Linked DNA regions of Homo sapiens: region 2 is linked to region 1. The links are contacts of gene promoters, found by promoter capture Hi-C in human tissues and cell types (Jung and others, 2019). All regions are on one chromosome and are shown on one strand. The core of a region is centred on a gene start or on the middle of the fragment in contact, and the rest is flanking DNA. Distances in the headings are between cores, read along the strand shown. Region 1 holds the start of NIPAL2 (NIPA like domain containing 2). Region 2 has its middle 46 kb from the start of MIR9903.

Region 1 (4,251 bases), core at 1,752-4,251:
CACGAATTCTTCGTTTCAACCACCCACACACACTAGGACAGCAGCAACAGCAGTGACATCTTGGAATCTAGAGAACACCACGTGGTAGGCTGTACATCAAATCTTCTCTGCATCATGTACCATCTTCCTCCAAAATTAGAGGTTTTAAACAAATGTAAAGAAATTGAAAATGTTTTTTTAAATTAAGAAATAAAATGGGAACAAGTTGAGTATAGCAGAGTATCAACTAAAGGGAAAAAAATCAAGCTTTTAAAGAATTAAACTTAGTTTTATTCAGAAGTCTCACTGAATTGTTTGAGGCCAGGAGTTCTAGACCAGCCTGGGAAACATAATGAGACCCCATCTCTACAAAAAATTAAAAAAAAAAAAAAATTGTCTGGGCGTGGTGACTCACGCCTGTAATCCCAGCACTTTGGGAGGCTGAGGTGGGTGGATCATGAGGTCAGGAGATCGAGACCATCCTGGCTAACACGATGAAACCCAGACTCTACTAAAAATACAAAAAATTAGCTGGGCGTGGTGGCGGGCATCTGTAGTCCCAGCTACTCAGGAGGCTGAGGCAGGAGAATGGCGTGAACTCGGGAGGCGGAGCTTGCAGTGAGCCGAGATTGTGCCACTGCACTCCAGCCTGGGTGACAGAGCAAGACTCTGTCTCAAAAAAAAAAAAAGTGTGGACTTCATTATGGCAATAGGGAGGCTTCAAGGCATTTTAAACCAGAAAGTAACACAATCCATTTAGTATTTTGCTTGTTAGCAACTGTACAACTACTTACAATCTGGCTGATAGAAAAATACTAGAGTGGTTGTACCAGGGTTGACTGGTTCCCCTCCCCCATAACCCCATGGCATTCCCACTCATCCTGGTTGGTAGAGCTTACCTCTCACTAGGTTGGAAATACCCAAGAATCACTTTCCCAGCCTCCCTTGCTGGTAGAACATGGGCATGTGACCCAGTCCCAGCCAATGGGATCTGAGGTGAAAGGATGCCAGGAGGATTCTGGAAAAGGCTTTCCTCCCTCAATGGACAAGACCAGTACCTCAGGGATAGCAGAGCAGAAAGGTGGAAGTGACGACATAATAGAACCACATAGAGACACATTCCTCTGGAGATAGCAGATAATTATTGTTTAAGCCACTTTTATTTGGATACTCTGTTACTTGCACCCTAAAGCATGTGAAGAGAAAGAAGCATTAATGAAGTCACCAATATCAATGAATGTGATGTTATAGAAAACTTATCAGACAAGGCATGGCAGCTCACACCTGTAATCCCACCACTTTGGGAGGCCGAGGTGGGACAACTGTTTGAGGCCAGGAGTTCTAGACCAGCCTAGGAAAAATTGCGAGACCCTGTCCCTACAAAAAAATAGAAAAATATTAGCCAGGGCCAGGTGTGGTGGCTCACACCTGTAATCCCAGCACTTTGGGAGGCCAAGACAGGGGGATCACTGGAGGTTAGGAGCTTGAGGCCAGCCTGACCAACACCGTGAAACCCTGTCTCTACTAAAAATACAAAAATTAGCCGGGCTTGGTGGTGTGCACGTGTAGTCCCAGCTACTCAGGAGGCTGAGGCAGGAGCATTGTTTGAACCCAGGAGGCAGAGGTTGCAGTGAGCTGAGATTGTGCCACTGCACTGCAGCCTGGGCAAGAGAGAGAGACTCTATCTAAAAAAAAAAAAAATTAGCTGGGCATGGTGGCATGCACCTGTATGTAGTCCCAGGTGGGAGGATCACTTGGGCCCAGGAATATGAGGCTAAAGTGAGTCAAGATCACACCACTGCACTCCAGCCTGGGCAACAGAGCAAGACCCTGTCTCAAAAAATAAAATAAAATGTAATATAACAAATAGAGACCTTTTTCCTTCAGATATTTATTTGAAGTAAATCAGCCTCTTAAAATTGGGAATAGTTACCTACAATTGTTAGCTGTTCACTGAACATCTCGAGTGCTTAAGCAAGAAACTACACAATTTCTGAGACGACATGTCTTGTTTTTTCTGTATGTGAAATGACTTTTTCTCACTCTTTTCTCTCATTTGCACATTTCCCCTAAGAAACACTGAAAACTGTCCCTGCTCCCTTCTAGGCAGCAATTCTCTTTTCTTGAAGGTCTCTCTTTCATGAACTCATGGAAGTCAAAGCACATTATCTAAGAAAAACCTCAGCATTGTGTAAACAAAAGAAGGCAACTATCAGCCTTCAGGCAACAGTATAGAATCATGGTTTTTTTAAAGTGAGAAATACCCTACAGATCATTTGTGGTCACACATTAGAATTTGAATACAGGTAAAACCAGAACATCTCGTTAGAGTTCTTAAGATTAATAACAACATTTATCTTTCATCCTAAATTCATATATACAGTAGCTGGCAACTTTTCAGCAACTCCACCTGATCCCATCTGAAGCAAACCCAATCCAGTCATCGCACACTGGGGTCCTATGGCTACCACATTCCTCATTCAAGGAATATTTACTAAGGATCTATCAAGCACTGGCACTGAGATTCAATCGCTCGGATCTTTTTTTCTCATATTGCTTACAATATTTCTGGGAACTCATGACTTTTTCATATGCAATCAATTTTTAAAATATCGGTGAGAAACACTACATATGTGATAGAGGACTGGAATTGCCAGGTAGAGATGGGAGATGATAGCTGCTTTGGGTTAGTCAGTGTCTCCTCCTCTTCCATTGACTTGGACAAATGTTTACAACGGAGATGATCTGATTCTGGCCCCGACAGGCGCGGGGACCCGTTGCGGACGGCCGCGGGGATTGCCCCCTTGGGCAGTGCGGCCCCGAGGATGCAGACACTGGCCCAGCGGAAGGAGGGCGCGGTGCGAGCTGGACGGCCCCGGGAGGCCGCAGACCGCCGGGCTCCCCGAGGACACCTCGCACCGGAGGAGGAGAGGAGGCAGCGCCCGGCCAGGCTGGGAGCACCTACGGCCGCGCGGGGGCGGGAGCCAGGTGGCCTCGGCGCGCCCGCCTCGCCCGGGCACCGAGCAGGAAGTGGCTGCGGCGCGGCCTCCTCGCGGTGCAACAGGGCGGGGAGGCGGCCGCAGCCCGAGCCGGAGCCCGAGCGCCGGGAGCGAGACCTCATGGCAGCGGTGGCGCCCGCGGGCCCCGGGGACTCCGCCTCGGCCGCCCTGGACGAGCTGTCACTGAATTTCACGTACGGGGCACCAGGCGCCGGCAACGGCTCCCTCTCGGGCGACTGGTACCGCAGGAACCAGGTAAGGGCCGCCCCGCAGCCACCGCAGCCCGGTGGGGACGCGGCCAGGGCGGCTGGCTCCGGGCGCCTCTGCGCCTCGGCCGCTTTCCTGCCAGCTCTCAGGAAGACACCCGGCCTCTCCGAGTGGGAAGAGGTGACATGCAATGTTTCCCGCATTGACCTAAGTCCGCCTCATCCGGAAGCGCGGGGGTCCGCCCAGTCTTCCTCTCCCGGGCACCCGGCACTGGGAGTGGGCGCCCAGGTCTTCGGCCTTGACCTCAGCCACCCGTTCCTGGGACCTCCGGGTCCCGATCCCGCCTCCCCAGCCTGCGTCCGCCCTCTTCTCCCGGAAGGAATCTAGGAGTGTGGGGGCAATTCACTCATTTTCACCCCAGGATCCTTTTACAGTTAAAAGAAAAGAAAAAAGTGACACCCTGTTATCAGAAGCAGAAAACTCATTAAGGGCAGCCTAATGTCACCTCGCGCAGATGCCCTGCGTGTGTCCCTGGTATCTCAACACAGCTCTTCCATTTCCGTGCGAGGAACACATTTTCTCAGGTTGCATTTGCAGGACTCTCATTCTTTCCCACCGGCCCTTTGGGAAAACTTTGTTAACTTAAACAACGCCAGTTTACACTGGAAATATACATTTAACAAAATCAAAGGGACTTGGAGCCGCCCATTTATTTTTGGCTTGGTTTAAGATGAGGAAGTGTTCTGGCCAGCCCTTCCTCTAGCAGCGTTCATATTGCAACTAAGTTTTATCACGGTGGATTCCAGGCTTCCTCCTGTTTTCATTAAATGTGTTACTTTGTTCTTGTTCTTTAACAAAACCATGGATACTTTTATTTTTGCAACAATATAATCAGAAAATATTTGTTGCTGTTGTCCTAAATCGGAGAGTTTAACCAATTATCAAAGATCTGGATTCCTTTTATGCCTGAAGTGTTCTAAATATTAATTTCTGAATGCAGAAGAGAATATATTTGTATAAAGAATAAGTAAGATAAATAAGCATGTTCACTTTATTAGTTTTCAAG
Region 2 (5,407 bases), core at 1,961-4,460, 53 kb before region 1:
GAAAAAATTGACTAATACAGTAAATTGGTACCAGTAGAGTGGGGCACTGCTGAAAAGATACCCGAAAATGTGGAAACAACTTTAGAAGTGGGTAACAGGCAGAGTTTGGAACAGTTTGGAGGGCTCAGGAGAAGACAGGAAAATGTGAGACAATTTGGAACTTCCCAGAGACTTTTTGAATGGCTTTGACCAAAATGCTGATAATGATACAGACAATGAAATTCAGGCTGAGATGGTCTCAGATGGAGATAAGGAACTTGTTGGGAACTGGAGCAAAGGTGACTCTTGTTATGTTTTAGCAAAGAGACTGGTGGCATTTTGCCCCTGCCCTAGAGATTTGTGGAACTTTGAACTTGAGAGAGATGATTTAGGGTATCTGGCAGAAGAAATTTCTAAGCAGCAAAGCATTCAAGAGGTGACTTGGGTGCTGTTAAAGGCATTCAGTTTTATAAGAGAAGCACAGCATAAAAGTTCGGAAAAATTGCAGCCTGACAATGCAATAGAAAAGAAAATCCCATTTTCTGAGGAGAAATTCAAGCTGGCTGCAGAAATTTGCATAAGTAACATGGAATCAAATGTCAACCACCAAGACAATGTGGAAAATGTCTCCAGGGCATGTCAGAGACCTTTGTGGCAGCCCCTCCCATCACAGGCCTGGAGGCCTAGGAGAAAAAAATGGTTTCATGGGTTGGGCCTAGGGTCCCTCTGCTGTGTGCAGTCTAGGGATTTGGTGCCCTGTGTCCCAGCTGCTCCAGCCATGACTAAAAAGGGCCAATGTACAACTCAGGCCATGGCTTCAGAGGGTGCAAGTCCCAAGCCTTGTGGTGTTGAGCCTGCAGGTACACAGAAGTCAAGAATTGAGGTTTGGGAACCTCAGCCTAGATTTCAGAGCATGTATGGAAATGCCTGGATGTCCAGATAGAAGTTTGCTGCTGGGGTGAGGTATTCATAGAGAACCTTTGCTAGGGCAGTGCAGAAAGGAAATGTGGAGTGGGTCCCCCATAGAGAGTCCCCACTGGGGTGCTGCCTAGTGGAGCTGGGAGAAGAGGGCCACCATCCTCCAGAGCCAGAATGGTAGATCCACCAACAGCTTACCCTGTGCACCTGGAAAAGCCATGCTCAACACCACCCTGTGAAAGCAGCTGGGAGGGAGGCCACACCTTGCAAAGCCACAGGGGCAGAGCTGCCGAAGACCATGGGAGCCCACCTCTTGCATCGGCATTACCTGGATATAAGACATGGAGTCAAAGAGTAGTTTCACTGCCCTACAAATCCTCTATACCTCTCCTTTTCATCTCTCCCTCTCCCAACCCCTGATGACCACTGATCTTTTTACCATCTCTGTAGTTCTGCCTTTTCTAGAATGTCATATAGTTGGAATCAAAAGTATGCAGCCTTTCAGACAGGCTTCTTATAGGAATACACATTTAAGTTCCCTCTATGTGTTTTCATGACTTAATAGCTCATTTCTCTTTAGCACCAAATAATATTCTATTGTCTGGATGTACCACCATTTATTTATCCATTCACCTACTGAAGGACATCATGGTTGCTTCCAAGTTTGGGCAATTATAAATAAAGCTGCTATAAACATCATGCACAGATTTTTGCATGAACATAAGTTTTCAACTTCTTTTGGTAAATACCAGGGAGCATTATTGCTGTATTGTTTGGTAAGAGTATGTTTAGTTTTGTAAGAAACTGCCAAAATACCTTCCAAAGTGACTGTACCATTTTACATTTCCACAGCAATGAATGAGAGTACTTGTTGCTCCACATCCTTGTCAGCATTTGGTGTTATCAGTGTCTTGAATTTTCAACATTCTAATCAATGTCTCATTGCTGTTTTAACTTGAAATTCCCTAATGACATATAATGTTGAACATCTTTTCATACACTTATTTGCCATCTGTATATTTTTGTTGAGATGCTTGTTCAGATCTGTTGCCCACTTTTAAATCAGGTTGTTTGTTTTCTTAATGTTCAGTTTTAAAATTCTTGGTGTATTTTGGATAACTGCCCTTTATTAAATGCGTCTTTTGCAAATATTTTCTCCCCATCTGTGGTTTGTCTTCTCATTCTCTTGACAATGTCTTTTGCAAAGCAGAAGTCTTTAATTTTAGTAAACACCAGTTTATCAATTCTTTGTTTCATGGATTGTGGTTCTGGTGTTGCATCTAAAAGTTATTGCCAAATCCCAGGTCATCTAGATTTTCTTTCTTTCTTTTTCTTTTATTAACTCTTCTAGTTTTATAGTTTTGGATTTTACATTTAAGCTTATGATCCATTTTGAGCTACTGTTTGTGAAGGATGTAAAGTCTTTGTCTAGTTCCATCTTTTTATATATGGATATCCAATTATTCCAGTATCATTTGTTGAAAAGACTGTCTTTTCCTCATTGCATTGCCTTTGCTCATTTGTCAAAGATTAGTTAACTATATTCATGAGGGTCTATTTATGAGCTCTCTATTCAATTCCATTGTTCTATTTGTCGATTCTCTCACCAATATCAGTCTTGATTATCGTAGATTTATAGTAAGTCTTGAAGTTAAGCAGTATCAGGTTTACTTTTTTCTTGTCCCTCAATATTGTGTTGGCTATTCTGGGTCTTTTGCCTCTCCATATAAACTTTAGAATCTCTGTTGATATTACAAAATATCTTGCAGGGACTTTTAATTTTTTTTGAATTGTGATGAATCTTTACAACAAGCTGGAAAGAACGAATATCTTGACAAGACTTTGTCTTTCTATCATCCTATTACCTTTAATCTATTTGTATCTTAACATTTAATGTATGTTTCCTATAGGCAACATATAGGTCAGTCTTGCTTTTTTATCCACTCTGACAATCTCTGCCTTTTAATTGAGATTGTTTCAACATTTATATTTAATGTATTGTTGATATGGGTAGACTTTAGTTCATCATTGTAATTTTTTTCTATTTGTCCCAGCTGTCCTTTGTTCCATTTTTCTCGATTTCTGCCTTTTTTGGATTAATACGCTGTGGTTTTTTTTGGTTTTTTTTGTTTTTTTTTGAGACGGAGTCTCGCTCTGTGGCCCAGGCGGGAGTGCAGTGGCGCAATCTTGGCTCACTGCAAGCTCTGCCTCCTGGGTTCACGCCATTCTCCTGCCTCAGCCTCCCGAGTAGCTGGGACTACAGGCGCCCGCCATCACGCCCGGCTAATTTTTTTGTATTTTTAGTAGAGACGGGGTTTCACCGTGTTAGGCAGGATGGTCTTGATCTCCTGACCTCGTGATCCGCCCGCCTCGGCCTCCCAAAGTGCTGGGATTACAAGCGTGAGCCACCGTGCCCGGCCAATACGCTGGTTTTTTAAAAAATATTTTTATCATCTTTTTCCTTGGTTTATTAGCTATAACTCTTTGTTTTGTTATTTAGTGGCTGCTATAGGGTTTATAATATACATCTCTAACATTTTACATTCTACCTTCAAGTGATATTATAGCATTTTTATGTATAGTATAAAATCCTTTCTTCCACTTCTCCTTTTATGGGCTTTGTGGTATTGTTAGCTATACATTTTGTTTTCACATATATTGTAAACCCTACAATACAATACATTATTATTATTTTTGCTTAAAAATATAATTATATTTTAAAGGCATTTAAATGATAAGGAAAAGTTTTATACACATATATATGTAGCTACCATTTCCAATGTTCTTTATTCTGTTGTGTAGACCCGTATCTATATGTGGTATCTTTTTTTTTTCTGCCTGAAACTTCCTATAACATTTCTTACAGTGTAGGCCTGCTGGAGATAAATTCTTTCAGATTTTTGTGTCTGAAGAAGTTTTTATTTCACTTTTGTTTTTGACAGATAGCTTTGCTGAGTATAGTATTCTAGATTGATACAACTGTCTCACTTGTATTTCTCCCAAGGAGAAATCTGCTGTTATCCTTATCTTTGTCCCTTTGAATGTTGTGGTCTTTTATCTCTGGATGATTTTATGATTTCTCTTTATCAATGGTTTTTGACACATTTTATACTGATGTGCTTTTATGAAATTTTATTTTCATATGCTTTTCTTCATGTTTCTTTTACTTGGTGTTCATTGAGCTTCTTGGATTTATGAGTTTATAGTATTCATTAAATTTGAAAAAAAAATTTGGACATTATTTCCTCAAATATTTTTTCAAGTCTCCTACTCCCCCTCCTCTCCTTTGGTGCTCCAATGACAGTTATATTAGGCTGTTGGAGTTGTCCCACCACTGATGCTCTGTTAACATTTTTTTTTTTTTTTTTGAGACGGAGTCTTGCTCTGTCACCCAGGCCGAAGTGCAATGGCGTGATCTCAGCTCAGTGCAACATCTGCCTCCCAGGTTCAAGCAATTCTCCCTCCTCAGCCTCCTGAGTAGCTGGGATTACAGGCACCCAAGATCATGCCTGGCTAATTTTTGTATTTTTGTGGAGATGGGGTTTCACCATGTTGGCCAGGCTGGTCTTGAACTCCTCACCTCAGGTGATTAGCCCACCTTGGCCTCCCAAAGTGCTGGGATTACAGGTGTGAGCACCCACCATGCCCGGACAGCTCTGTTAACTTTTGAAACTATTTCTTCTCTCTGCGTTTCATTTTAGGTAGTTTCTATACCTCGATCTTCAAGTCCAATGAATCTTTTCTCTCCTGAAATGCCTAGTCTGCCATCAGTTCCATCCAGTGTATTTTAATCTCAGGCATTGTAGTTTTCATCTCTAGAAATTCAATTTGGATCTTTTATATTTTCCACATTTCTATTTAACTTTTTGAAATATAGAAGAACTCAAAATAAAAACTATTTTGGTGTCCTGTTCTGCTAATTCCAACATCTGTGTCAGTCTGGGGATGGTTTCTACTGATTAATTATTTTCCTCATTATAGGTTGTGTTTTCCTGCCTCTTTCCATGCCTGGTTCAGAACAGACACTATTTCCAGTCCTATGTGAACATCAGATACTGTTCCCTCTAATATTTTCAGACGATTCTTCCTCCAGCCTTTAGGTGGCTCTTTTTTGGACCGCCTTTCCCTAGATGACATCACTCCAATTTCTTCCAAATCCTGTATCTGGTGTCCAATATTTTGAAAGGGTCTCTTCCTCACTGGCAAAGCCTGAGGCTTACCAAAAGCAGAAAAGGGGAGTAAAAAGTGTGACTCCTACTAAGATGAAATGGAGAAAAGCACTCAATAGTTACCTGATGCCTTCAGTGTGTTACATGCAAACGAGTGGTTTTGGTATTTGGGAAAGGCAGGTTAAAGAGGCTGCTTTATTTATTTCTTCTCAATGAATATGGGATCATCTTTCCATGATTAAAGTCAAGAGGACCTGCAGTATTTGGGACATACATTGCTAGATTAAGCATACATAGATCTCAAACCACTTCAGGCTCAGTAGATTGCAATCTTTTGTTTT

Evidence for each region. The method cuts DNA at HindIII sites, captures the fragments that hold promoters and counts their contacts. A contact is called where the count stands out against the background at its distance.
Region 2: a fragment that was not itself captured here is called in contact with the fragment with the promoter of NIPAL2 in region 1 in 3 of the 25 tissues and cell types used here (bladder, hippocampus and mesendoderm cells).

What each region holds. Positions count from the first base shown.
Region 1 is chr8:98,292,985-98,297,235 of GRCh38, reverse strand. NIPAL2 (NIPA like domain containing 2) reads left to right here and starts at 3,001. Exons shown (of 11, transcript NM_001321635.2): 1 at 3,001-3,233. The coding sequence starts at 3,099. All of the region lies in intron 5 of LOC105375659 (a long non-coding RNA gene), which reads right to left. RefSeq lists a silencer at 2,762-3,481. The HindIII fragment of the contact is 9,267 bases long and covers 1-4,251 here.
Region 2 is chr8:98,345,143-98,350,549 of GRCh38, reverse strand. It overlaps a transcript of STK3 not described here. Among named protein-coding and RNA genes, the nearest start is that of MIR9903, 46 kb to the left of the region's middle. The HindIII fragment of the contact is 6,049 bases long and covers 186-5,407 here.